Regions from separate parts of the Homo sapiens genome. Here region 2 is linked to region 1. The links are contacts of gene promoters, found by promoter capture Hi-C in human tissues and cell types (Jung and others, 2019). All regions are on one chromosome and are shown on one strand. Each heading gives the region's core, a stretch centred on a gene start or on the middle of the fragment in contact. The rest is flanking DNA. Distances are from core to core; before and after follow the strand shown. Region 1 holds the start of KIAA1614. Region 2 overlaps MR1 (major histocompatibility complex, class I-related).

The links. Contacts are between HindIII fragments. The study calls those that stand out against the background at their distance.
Region 2: a contact is called between a fragment that was not itself captured here and the fragment with the promoter of KIAA1614 in region 1, in 1 of the 25 tissues and cell types used here (bladder).

The regions. Positions count from the first base shown.
Region 1 is chr1:180,909,267-180,915,831 of GRCh38, forward strand. It overlaps KIAA1614, which reads left to right and starts at 3,631. Exons shown (of 9, transcript NM_020950.2): 1 at 3,631-4,027. The coding sequence starts at 3,978. LINC02816 (long intergenic non-protein coding RNA 2816) reads left to right here. Exons shown (of 4, transcript NR_185877.1): 4 at 1-4,790. RefSeq lists a silencer at 3,427-3,726. The HindIII fragment of the contact is 13,277 bases long and covers 1-4,958 here.
Region 2 is chr1:181,038,154-181,044,421 of GRCh38, forward strand. The region is part of intron 1 of MR1 (major histocompatibility complex, class I-related); the gene reads left to right. Among named protein-coding and RNA genes, the nearest start is that of MR1, 7.3 kb to the left of the region's middle. RefSeq lists an enhancer at 6,190-6,268. The HindIII fragment of the contact is 4,523 bases long and covers 2,145-6,268 here.

The sequences.
Region 1 (6,565 bases), core at 2,381-4,880:
GTGAGCAACCTACACCACCTTATGCTGACCTGGTTGGGAGCACATATATAGAAAGTTTGTGTGCCTGCCCCTCCCCAACTCCCCAGTTCCTCAAAAGTAGGGTCTGTGGTGCTAAATTTTGTCTCTGCAGTCTCTGACATATCTAGGAGCTCAACATATATCTGCTAAATCAAACAGAATCCAGATGAACAAGAATGCCCTCGACATGTAGATGTCACAATTCAACAGCATTCTAAGGGTTTGCTCGTGCTCATGGGTATCTTTAGGACAGGTGGCTTTTAAGGCCTCAATATAGATGTAACACCCTACTCCCCTCGCACAAAAAACAAAAAAACAAAAAAAACTTTAACCCAAATAAACTGAAAGTGATTATTTGCATCTCAAAAGATTGGGGGGAGGCAGGTTTTCTTTAAACATTAAACCTTTGCTGGAACTTTCAGAAACTTTCCTTATAGATCATTAACTTCTGGGGGAGGGTGGGAGCAGAAGCCGTGGAGTCTGAATTCAGAGGTGCCTCTATAAAAGAGGAAGCAAGGCAGAAAATCTTGGAACCAGACAGAGCTGGGTTCAGATTCTAGCTATACTAGCTGTGTGGCCTTGGGCAAGCTACTTAACCTCTCTGCAGCTCGATTTCTTTATCACTAAAGTGGAGATACACTATACCTATTTTGCATGGTTGTTGTAAAGATGCAAAAGATCCTATGTGGGGTACCTTAGCTCATAGGATGCCCCCAATAATAGTAACAGTGTTGCTGCTGTCAGGCTTAACACTGGGCATGCAGGAGAAGAAGGAGTCTTGAGGGGCTTTTAACTTAGACGGCAGGAATAAGAAAGCCAGGAAGGGCCAAGCCACTGTGCCAGCACATTTTCAGTATCACAGCACTTCATGATTTTTTTCACAAATCTTTTGATTTTTTTTTAAACTAAATCTTTCCATGTTGAACAGGCAGATGCTGGCGACAGCACTGTGCAGTGTACTGGCATGAGGGCCTGGACTCTAGGAGGCTGGACTACAGCTTACCCAGCTGTGGATCCTGGGGCGTTCACTTACACTCAGTGTCTATAGAAAGGAGACAATAGGCCAGGCGTGGTGGCTCACACTTGTAATCCCAGCACTTTGGGAGGCCCAGGCGGGCAGATCATGAGGTCAGGAGATCGATGCCATCAAGGCTAACACGGTGAAACCCCATCTATACTAAAAATACAAAAAATTAGCCAGGCACGGTGGTGGGCACCTGTATTCCCAGCTACTTGGGAGGCCGAGGCAGGAGAATGGCGTGAACCTGGGAGGCGGAGCTTGCAGTGAGCCGAGATAGCGCCACAGCACTCCAGCCTGGGTGAAAGAGCGAGACTCCGTCTCAAAAAAAAAAAAAAAAAAAAAAAAAGAAAAGGAGACAATAGCCACTGCCTACTTCTTAAGGCTGAAATACGAGATAATGAATTTAAACTGCTTAGCCAATGCCTGGTGCCAGTATGCCCACTGCAAATAGTGCAGGCACCACTCTGTGAAGCGATCAATACTAAAAAGCAAAAGCAGTCAATGCTTTGTTAAAGGAACTTCTTGTTCTGGGAACATGGTGAGTTTCGGGGAGGGAAGAGGCCACCCAGGACCCTGGAGACCACCTGTCACCAGAGCTGTGTAACTGCTACAGGAGAGGTGTCCCAATCCAGACCACAAGAAAGGGTTCTTGCATCTCTCGCAAGAAAGAATTCAGGGCAAGGCTGGGCGTGGTGGCTCATGCCTGTAATCCCAAACTTTGGGAGGCCGAGGCAGGTGGATCACTTGAGGCCAGGAGTTCGAGACCATCCTGGGCAACATGGTGAAACCCCATCTCTACTAAAAATACAAAAAGTAGCCAGGCGTGGTGGTGCATGTCTATAGCCCCAGCTACTCAGGAGGCTGAGGTGGGAGAATCCATCGCCCCACTGCCCTCCAGCCTGGGCAACAGAGCAAGACTCTGTCTCAAAAAAAAAAAAAAAAAAAAAAAAGCAAGGTGCGTTCACAGTGCAAAGCAAAAGCAAGTTTAGTAAGAAAGTAAAGTGGTGAAAGTACAGCTACTCCATAGACAGAGGAGGGAGTTCTGGAAAGTACGAGGAGGAACGCATCCACCCTGGGTACAATACTCGCTTACACAGGATAAAAAAGGATCATGGGGAGATGTGCTGTGCTACAAGGGTTTGTGATAAAGGATTAATTTTCTTAGTTACTATATTTTGCAATAATCGATATTATTAACTTTAAAGCATAATTACAAATGAGTCTGTTCTCAAGATATCAGGATATCAGGACACTCCTAAGTCTGGGTCTGTTTAGCAAACGTTATTAATTTGTTCTCTTAACCGTAAATATCTAGAAGCTGGGTATAGCTAACTCACTGGGAATGTGGCCCAGCAAGTCCCAGCCTCATTTTCCTCGCCCTCACACAAGATGGAGTCGCTCTGGTTCGAAGCCTCTGACGTAACCTTGGGCCTGTACTGTGACACAGAGGGTTTGCACTGGATAATCTCTCAAGCTCCTAGATTGCCAAGACGCCAGTCCACTCACAGCTCCCCAGGCTCCGCTCTCCTGTTGCCCTGCCAGACGCCCCTTCCCCCACCTTGTGCAGAGTAACCCCCTCCTGACTCAAGAGGCAGCCCCTCTAGAAAACTTCCTTCCCCTCCTCCCCTGCCCCGGTACATATTGCGCGGCCCTTACTGTTGCTGTGTCTGTCCTGTCATCTGGAGGTGCACAACTACCCCATGCTTCACAGTGAAGCCAGTCGGCTGAAGGAAAGATGAACGGGCACTTTCTCTTTGTAGAGATTTCCGGAATCTCCTGAGGCCACTTTTATTGCTTCCCGTCTTTGTGAAAAAATAGGCTTGGAAATAGGTGAGGCTCGGTCACCCCCTCTGGGTGGAAGGAGAAAGCAAGCTCCGTCGGTTTGGGCCGCGGCTGCAGGGAATGCCCCTGGTTGCGACCCCCGTCCCGCGCTGGGGAAAGTGATCTGCTCGAGAGCCCCCAGGACCCTGAGAACCGGTCCCCACCCAAGGCGGCGGCGGGCAATTCCGGCACCGCGGCAGACGGGATGCGCGGAGCGCGTTCCCTCCGGGTTTCCCTCACGCCTCTGGAGAGCGGGAACCAACGACCTTGACCTCGGAGGAAACGGCTCTACGGAGCGATGGACGGCCCCACAGAGAGGGCGGCCGGCTCCTCTGGAAAACTTGTCCACACAAAAGGCATTCCTCAGCTTCCACCCCGAAAGGCGAGCCCTGGGTGTAGGGTTACCAGCGGCGCGCGGAGCCCGCCGAGAACGTGGTGCGCCCCCAGCTCCTGCCCGCGCTCCCCGGCCTCCGTGCGCCCCGCGCGCCTCCGCTCTTGCGCCCGCTTTCCCGCGGGGAAGGGGCCACCGCCCTGCGAGGCTGGCGGCCGCCCCGTCGTCCCCAAGCTCGGGGCCGCCCTGGACTTCCATCCCGCGCCTCTGACGGCCGGGGACACTCGCTCCCTGGGCCGCGGCTCAGGAGAGGCGGCCCCGCGGGGCTCCGGGCGGGGTGGGAGGCCGAGGCCCGGCTCCTCCAGCCCCTCCCGCGGCCCCACCTCTCCGCGCTCGGCTCCCTCTGCCCAGCGCGGGCCGGGAAGGCGCGGGCTTGGCCGCTCTTCCCCTCCACGGCAAAGCCGTGAACGGACAGCTGATGCCACTTCCTTCCCTGCCAGCGCCCTCCCTGCCCGACCCCGCTTCCCGTCCTCTCGCCGGGAGGGAGTGCGGCCCGTGGGGCGCTGCGCCGGCCAGACCCACCCGGGGCCCGGGGGCTGCCAGCAGAGCCGGGAGCTGGCCCGGCCTCGGCGCCGTCCCGGACCCCCAGTCGGCCGCGCCCCGAGGGGCGAGGCCTGCGGGCCGCACTCCCTCCGGCCCCGGATTCGGGGCTGGAAGTCCCTCCCCGAACCCAGCAGCTGGCCTGGGAGGGAGAAGGGGCTGGAGAGGGCCTGGCCTCTCCGAGGGATGGAGGGGACAGAGGCGGCGGCGGCCAAACCCGCGGGCGGCAGCCCCCAGTGAGTATAGAGGAGGCAGCGCCGGGCCGGCCGGGCGGGGGTGGCGGACCGGCGGGGCGGAGGAGCGGGGAGCCCAGGTCGCCCCGGCCACTGGGAAGCGGGCCTCCCACGGGCTCGGAGCTGGAAGGGTCGTGGGGAGGCCCGCCCTTCACGTCCATCTTCGTTTGGCCCCTCTGAGTTAGGGGAAATACATCACAGTGCTTGGGCCATAGAACCAGGCAGCTCCGAGCTGACCGATCTTCCCGAAAGCCCGTGCCCAGGGGACTCCAGTGGGAGGGTCTCATTCTTTAAGGTCTCTGGCGTGCTGTTCCAGAGTTTACCCATCAACAATTCTTACTTTAATTTTTTGGAGCCAGGGTCTCGCTCTGTCGCCCAGGCTGGAGTGCAGTGGTGCGATCATGGCTCACTGCAACCTCGACCTCCCGGGCTCAAGCCCGGCCTCCTCTGGCTTCAGCCTCCCCAAAAACAAAAAGTTATTTTAACTTAACAGAAATTGCTCATATTACATTCTAATCCCCTGTTTTCTGGATTGGACTTTAGAGGAGAAGAAGGAGATGCAAAGAGAAACTTGCTGCATTCTAGATTAACTCATAGAACAAATTATTTCTGTCCTCCTAAAGATAATCCTTAAACTTTACTGGCTTAAAACTGGTGTGACATTTCGCATTATATGTGTATTTTGCTTTATAAAATATGTGCATTCCTGAAAGCTTGTGTATAAATTGAATTGTAATAAACGACTACAGAGAGACTTGCCATTTAAGAGAATTTTATGGTGAATACTTGGTCCGTGTTACGAAGTGGATAACTCCTAATTTGTAGTGTATACACATAAGGATTTTTATGCACAAAGTTTACTTCAAGGGGGGGGGGACATCTAGATGTGTGATATTAAAGTTGTATTTTTCTCAGAAGGTAGAATCAATATTAAAACGCTGTGGCATGTAGATATGCATGCAACACCCTGAGTCAAACCCCTGCTCACCTTCATTCCTTGTGAAGGGATAAACATCAGCCATGCTGCTAAGGATCTGTGCAGCGCTGACAAGCCACCTAGCCTCTGGGGATGGAACATTATCATTTACAGAATAAGGGGAGTAGGGTTAAGTGATCACTACATGTTTTGGAAAAGGCCTGGGCTTGGAATGAGAAGCTTTGGTTTCCAAACTGGGCCTCCTCTTAGCACCTGTGTATTGTAATCTGTGCCTCAGTTTCTCCATCTGTAGAAGTATATAATAAAGCCATTCTTTCTTTTCTTTTCTTTTCTTTTTTTTGAGACAGAGTCTCGCTCTATCGCCCAGGCTGGAGTGCAGTGGCGGGATCTCGCCTCACTGTAACCTCCGCCTTCTGGGTTCAAGTGATTCTCCTGCCTCTGCCTCCCAAGTAGCTGGGACTACAGGCACCTGCCACCACACCCAGCTAATTTTTTGTATTTTTTATTTTTATTTATTTTTTTTATTTTTGAGACAGAGTCTTGCTCTGTCGCCCAGGCTGGAGTGCAGTGGTGCAATCTTGGCTCACTGCAACCTCTGCCTCCCGAGTTCAAGCAATTACCTTGCCTCAGCCTCCTGAGTAGCTGGGACTACAGGTGAGCAGCACTCCTGACCTCAGGATCCACCCGCCTCGGCCTCCCAAAGTGCTGGGATTACAGGTGTGAGCCACCGCGCCTAGCCAATTTTTTGTATTTTTAATGGAGGAGGGGGTTTCACCATGTTGGCCAGGCTGGTCTCGAGCTCCTGACCTCAAGTGATCCACCCGCCTCAGCCTCCCAAAATGCTGGGATTACAGGTGTGAGCCACCGCTCCTGGTCAATAATGCCATTGTGTTAGGGACAGGATTATTGGGGGGAGTGTGTTTGAAAGCACTTGCAGTCCCGCCTGGCATAGAGCAGATGCCTAATCGGCGTTCCTGACTGGTCAAGGTCTCCCTTTGAGCTCAACCCCATGCTGTGGTCCTGTGGCTTGTGCATCAGGGGTCAGGGGTGAGGTTGGATGCAGCACCTTCTACTGGAGGTCAGATCCTGCTTGGTGTCTTCCTGATGTCTATCATCCTCATTGGCTCCCCTTGGAGAGGGAAGAGCATGTTGCCTGTTAGCAGATGCGGGCATCCTCCACTGAAGCTACCCTTCAGCAAAGTAAGAGGCCAGGGATTGGGAAATCACCCTGGTTTTCACTCTGGTCCACATTTGGCATAGGATTAGTTGTCCTCTGAAGCTTCATTTTGCCCGTCTATAAAATGGGGATAGAAAAACTAGAACACTACTGAGACTTGGAAGAAAAAATTCAACAATAACTTATTTGCACTCTTCAATGACTTGCATTTTTTTAAAAGTGCTTTCACGTTATCTATAGCAGGGCTCCCCAACCCCCGGGGCCACGAACCAATAGCGGTCCACAGCCCATAGCAGTCTGTGGCCTGTTAGGAACCAGGCCGCACAGCAGGAGGTGAGTGGCAGCGAGCAAGTGAGCATTACCACCTGAGCTCTGCCTCCTGTCAGACCAGCAGTGGCATTAGATTTTCATAGGAGCACAAATTTTA
Region 2 (6,268 bases), core at 3,156-5,655, 130 kb after region 1:
AGAATATACCTATATGAAGTGAGACATTGGCAACCTTCAAAAGGGTAGCCTCAGAAGAGTAGCTCACAAGCCAAACTTGTCACAGTCGCCACTTTTATGCTCTAAGTTCCTGTAGTTAGTTAGACATGTCATTAGGAGAGGGGACTAATGGTTCTTGCTGCACATAGAACCATCCATGAACATGGCCTGAGATGTGTCCAAAGGTCCCCTTAACTAAAAATATTGCCACCTACTTCTCCCCTCATTCCCACGATGCTCGAAATTCTAAAGAGTCATTCCCAGGAATCATAATCATTTTGACCTTATTAAGGCATTGGACTTCTTGAGAGAGCCAATAAATAATCAGACTGTGTTGACCTGGTTATCCAATCAGGACTCACGGCCACCTGTGTGTAGGAAGGTCTGGAGCCTGTGGCCCCAGGGACTGGGAAATCAGAGGCAGTGAGTCATCCTTGACACAAGGGGGCAGGAGAGAGCAGTGATAATCCAGGGGCTAGAAGCCTGGCCTGGAAAGCTTCCCCTACACTAGGGAGGGTTGGGTAGTCTCAAGGTAGAGGGACTTCCCATGGAGAGATCACAGTGTGATTCCTGGTTCCTTCACTTATGGATTCTGAGGATGATCTTGGGCAATTAATCTCTCTGCACCTATTTTCTTTTCTTTTTTTTTGAGATGGAGTTTTGCTCTTATTGCCCAGGCTGGAGTGCAATGGCGTGATCCCGGCTCACTACAACCTCCGCCTCCTGGGTTCAAGCGATTCTCCTGCCTCAGCCTCCCAAGTAGCTGGGATTACAGGCATGCGCCACCACACCCAGCTAATTTTTTGCATTTTTAGTAGGGACAGAGTTTCTCCGTGTTGGCAAGGCTGGTCTTGAACTCCTGACCTCAGGTGATCCGCCTGCCTTGGCCCCCCAAAGTGCTGGGATTACAGGCATGAGCCACCACACCCGGCCTCTCTGCACCTATTTTCTATCTGTGGGTTGGAATTATAAGACCTACCTCAAAAGTTTGTTAGAAGAATAAGTGAAACCCATGCTTATCAAGGGCTTAAAATGGTACCTAACACAAGGTATGTGCTCAATAAACAAATACAGTTGTGATGACTATGATTAAGATGCTGCTGCCCTTTATGCCTCATTGAAGGCCCATCTGATCTGCCACCTCCTTGGAACATTTCCCAGTGGATCCCTTCTCATGGGACCACGGTCTCTCTTCTCCTAGTGGCTGGAGCACTCCATTGGTACTCTTTTCTGGCGCTTGCTGCTTGTTGCCGTGTGTGGTGGAATTCATTTATTTGTTATGTGCTTTAGCTCCCCAATAATACTGTAAGTTCCTGGAGGAAAGAGCTGGTATTTGATTTGTTCTTCTCTTCCTAACATTGCCTCCAATTCCTTGTACATAGTAGACACTAAATAAATAATTGCCCCCATGAGGCCGGGCGCGGTGGCTCACGCCTGTAATCCCAACATTTTGGGAGGCTGAGGTGGGTGGATCACCTGAGGTCATGAGTTCGAGACCAGCCTGACCAACATGGTGAAACCCTGTCTCTACTAAAAATACAAAAATTAGCTGAGTGTAGTGGTGGGCGCCTATAATCCCAACTACTCTGGAGGCTGAGGCAGGAGAATTGCTTGAACCCAGGAGGCAGAGGTTGCAGTGAGCCAAGATCATGCCACTGCACTCCAGCCTGGGTGTCAGAGCGAGACTCCATCTCAAAAAAAAAAAAAAAAGAAAAAAGAAAAGAAAAATTGCCCTCATGGATGAAGTGAAAACACTTCATCAATTATTTTACAATCCAGTGATTTTCACAGCCTTTTGTAAGAATGGCCCAACTGGTTAATGGACAGGTTAAAGGGAACATGATTTAGAACTATCAAGTAGCCATTGCACCTAGCCTAAGAGTTTTTGGTTGTGTCGTTCGGGTTCTCCAGCACTATCTGTCAGAAGCTGATGAGACTGGGCAGGAGATGCCTTTTGAGAAGTAGCTTGACTGGTTTAGACAGAATACCAAATTCTAAATTGTATATTTCAGCTTAATAAGTGAGTTGATGCTGATGATCTATCTGTTCATGGAAAGGGAGAGAGAGACTTAATTTCAAAATTATTAGGGCGAGAAAAGAGAAATGGAAGATTAGATCAAATGATATGAAATTGCCATTTTTATAGGTCAAAAATGGTAAAATATTGGCCTTTCCAAATGATTCGAAATCTGATTATGTCTGCAACAAATCCTGGTGGGATATAAATTATCACAAGTTTTAATGTACTAGGAGAGAGAGGGTACCTGGACTTTTCCTCATCTTTTCTGTTGTGAGTTACTGACTGAACATGTGTCAATCAACTTCCCACCACAGCAGAGGTAACATTTTAAAGGCCCAGCTAAGGAGCAAGCATGACTTGTTCCTGTGGAGGCACCAGATGGGTAACTGGGCCCATGGCAAATGAAGAGGAAGGGACTGTGATGTCCTGGAGCAGAGCCACGCTGGGCTGAACCAGTGGTGGATGGGTGTGACTGAAAAAGCAAGTCCAGCCTTTAGGTGCCTGGACTTTGAAGTCAAGGCTGGCTGGTGGAGAACAACTGTTTCAAAACCAGGCATCAGAATTAGATTGAAGTTAAAAAAAAAAAAAACCCAGAAAGAAAGAAAGACACAGCCAGGCACGGTGGCTCATGTCTGTAATCCCAGCACTTTGGGAGGCCAAGGCAGGGGGAATCATGAGGTAGGAGTTCAAGACCAGCCTGGCCAACGTGGTGAAACCCCATCTCTACTAAAAATAAAAAAATTAGCTGGGTGTAGTGGCAGGCGCCTGTAATCTCAGCTACTTGGGAGGCTGAGGCAGGAGAATCGCTTGAACCTGGGAGGCAGAGGTTGCAGTGAGCAGAGACTGTGCCACTGCACTCCAGCCCGGGTGACAGAGTGAGACTCTGTCTCAATAAATAAATAAATAAATAAATAAATAAATAAATAAATAAAGCACAATACTTACTTGGACAGTATTGTCAACAGACCATATTTCTCTCTATCTACCTCTTTTAACTTCAGATAATGCAAATTCTTGTGAAAATTACATTTTTATAAGAAAGCAAAGTTACATGAATTGTAAATATTATGTTTGGAGATGATGCTGGTGATACTTAACTGGAATAAATCCTGCTATTGGGCACTAATGCCCCAAGTTGTTAATACTGGAGGTTTTTTTGCTTGTTGGCATCTATCAGGAATGTAGACCTCAGAGATCATAAAAATAGAAAACCCAGATTCCAGGGGATGTTCTACACCAACCCAGCTTAGCTCAGCAACACAGCATCTTTTTTTCTTCCTTCTTTTTTCTCCTCTCCACATTCTCTGTCTGGAGTCTGCTCTCCGTGGGGATTTTTTCCCATGAAAAACTATGGAAGTGATTCCTCCCTCTTTCTTTTCCCCTCACTCCCTCAACTCCAGCCACAGGCCTTTGTGCTGCTCCTGGAATGTGCCAGGCATGTTCTTTCCAGGGGCCTTTGCATGGCCCTTCTTGTCCAGACTGCTGTCCCCAGACACCTGCCTGTCTCCCCAACTCCTTGCAGGCACTTGCTCAGAATTCAGCTTTGTGGGAAACCTTCCTTAATACGCCTTCCTTTTTTAAATAGTGTTGCCCATTCCTCTTTGCAGTTTTATTTTTCTTCACTGTACTTTAAAAAAATTATATATTTTATTTTCTAGTCTGTCTTCTCCCCTTCCCCCGACTAGGGTGTAGACTCCATGAGGGCAGACATTTTTATCTGTTTGGTCTGGTACAAGCTTAGGGCCTAGAAGAGTGGCTGGCACAGAAGAAGCATTGGATATACAAATCAATATTAAGGAAGTGTGAGAACTAATATTCACAACTTGTTCCTCCTTTTGGGTCCTCCTTCTTTAGACAGTTGTGTACCTCCAGTGTAGCCACAAAACTTTCCAGATGTGAAAAAATAGAACTATTTCAAAATCAATTGCAGAATATATATAGTACCCTTTGCAGATCCCAGATTGCAGTTCAACTCTCCATTCACCAGCCTTCCCTTGAATCAAAGATAATTTTTTTTTTTTTTTTTTTGAGATGGAGTCTCGCTCTTGTTGCCCAGGCTGGAGTGCAGTGGCGCGATCTCGGCTCACCACAACCTCCACCTCCCAGGTTCAAGCGATTCTCCTGCCTCACCTCCCTAGTAGCTGGGATTACAGGCATGCGCCACCATGCCTGGCTAATTTTATATTTTTAGTAGAGATGGGGTTTCTCCATGTTGGTCAGGCTGGTCTTGAACTCCTGACCTTAGGTGATCCACCCACCTCGGCCTCCAAAAGTGCTGGGATTAGAGGCGTGAGCCACCGCGCCCGGCCAAATCAAAAATATTTTTTAGGCCAGGTGCGGTGGCTCACGCCTGTAATCCCAGCACTTTGGGAGACCAAGGCAGGCAGATCACCTGAGGTCGGGAGTTCAAGACCAGCCTGGCCAACGTGGCAAAAACCCGTCTATACTAAAAAAAAATACAAAAATTAGCCAGGCGTGATGGTGGGCACCTGTAATCCCAGCTACTTGGGAGGCTGGGGCAGGGAGAATTGCCTGAAGCAGGGAGGCAGAGGCCGCAGTGAGCCGAGATCACGCCACTGCACTCCAACCTGGGCGACAGAATGAGACTCTGTCTCAAAAAAGATCCAGGTTAAATAGATTCATATTCATTTCAGCATATTTCATTATTCCAAACCACAGAAATAAAGTGTTTCACCAACAATTTAATTCACCCAATATTTACCAAGCTACTACCATGTGCCAAGCTCCCTGTGCTAAGCTTTGCAGGAAATACAAAGGAAAAAAGCAAAGTCCCTGTTCTTAAGTGCTTTAAGATTGAGAAGCAGGTAGAAGGTAGTAAGCAGAGGGAAACAGAAGGCAGAATCTGGTAGCTATTGGTTTTACGACAGAACTCATGCTCTGATGCAATCTCTGGCTCTTGTTTGCATAAGAACCAACACTTTTATGAAGAGGCTCTCATGACTACCCCAGAGGCTTCCACTGTCTTCCCTCCCAACCCAAGCCCTCACCCACCACAGGAAGGGAAGGGGGAAGTAAAAGGTCAAAGCAATACAGAGGGACATTGGGACCTTATGCTGCCCCAGCCTGTGGGAGGCCAGCCTCCATCCTGTTCAGTATTGCAGCTGACATGCAGGATAACACCTGTGAGGGAGGAGCCCATGGGGCGGGGATACCTACTCTGAACCCTGCCAAACTGCTACACCCCAGCTCCAGGAGCAAGGAGAAAGAAGTGCTAACAATGATTTTAATTGCTGGGCGTGGTGGCTCACATCTCTAATCCCAGCACTTTGGGAGGCCAAAGTGGGAGGATCACTTAAGGCCAGGAATTTGAGACCAGCCTGGGCAACACAGACCCTGTCTCTATTAAAAAGAAGTGGTGACGTGCTTATAATCCCAGCTACTCAGGAGGCTGAGGTGAGAGGACCACTTAAGCCCAGGAATTCAAGGCTACAGTGAGCTGTGATCATGCCGCTGCACTCCAGCTGGGCAACAGAGTAAAACCCTGTCATACACACACACACATATGCACACACATACATACACTAACTAGTACAATCAGTTGCTCTGGGAGATACCTCTCAGGGCCTCTTGTTTTTCCTAGTATGCAAGGTAAGGGTACCCTGGCCTTGGGGTGGTCAGTTCTGAAAGATAACCTGCACATTATGAGTTATTTCATAAGCAGTTTTAGAGAAAAGAAAAATATAAACAAACTTGTAGCACAGAAGCTAATCCAACTATTTTGTGAGCTGATTTTTTTTTTTTGTCTGATCTTTTTTTTTTTTTTTTTTTTGAGACAGAGTCTCACTCTGTCGCCCAGGCTGGAGTGCAGTGGCGTGATCTTGGCTCACTGCAAGCTCCGCCTCCCGGGTTCACACCATTCTCCTGCCTCAGCCTCCCAAGTAGCTGGGACTACAGGTGCCTGCCACAACGCCTGGCTAATTTTTTGTATTTTTAGTAGAGACGGGGTTTCACCATGTTAGCCAGGTTGGTCTCGATCTCCTGACCTCATGATCCGCCCGCGTCGGCCTCCCAAAGTGCTGGGATTACAGGCGTGAGCCACTGCGCCCGGCCTGATCTTTTTTCTTAACTATATGCTTATAAATGAGGAGGAAGGAATGAATATCATTAAGTGGTATTCACCCTTGCAAGATTCTCTATAGTGGCAAGGGCCAGGTTAGAAGATCTGAATGTAGGGGAGGTCCTAAAGGTGATGGCAGCAGCAGGGTGGGC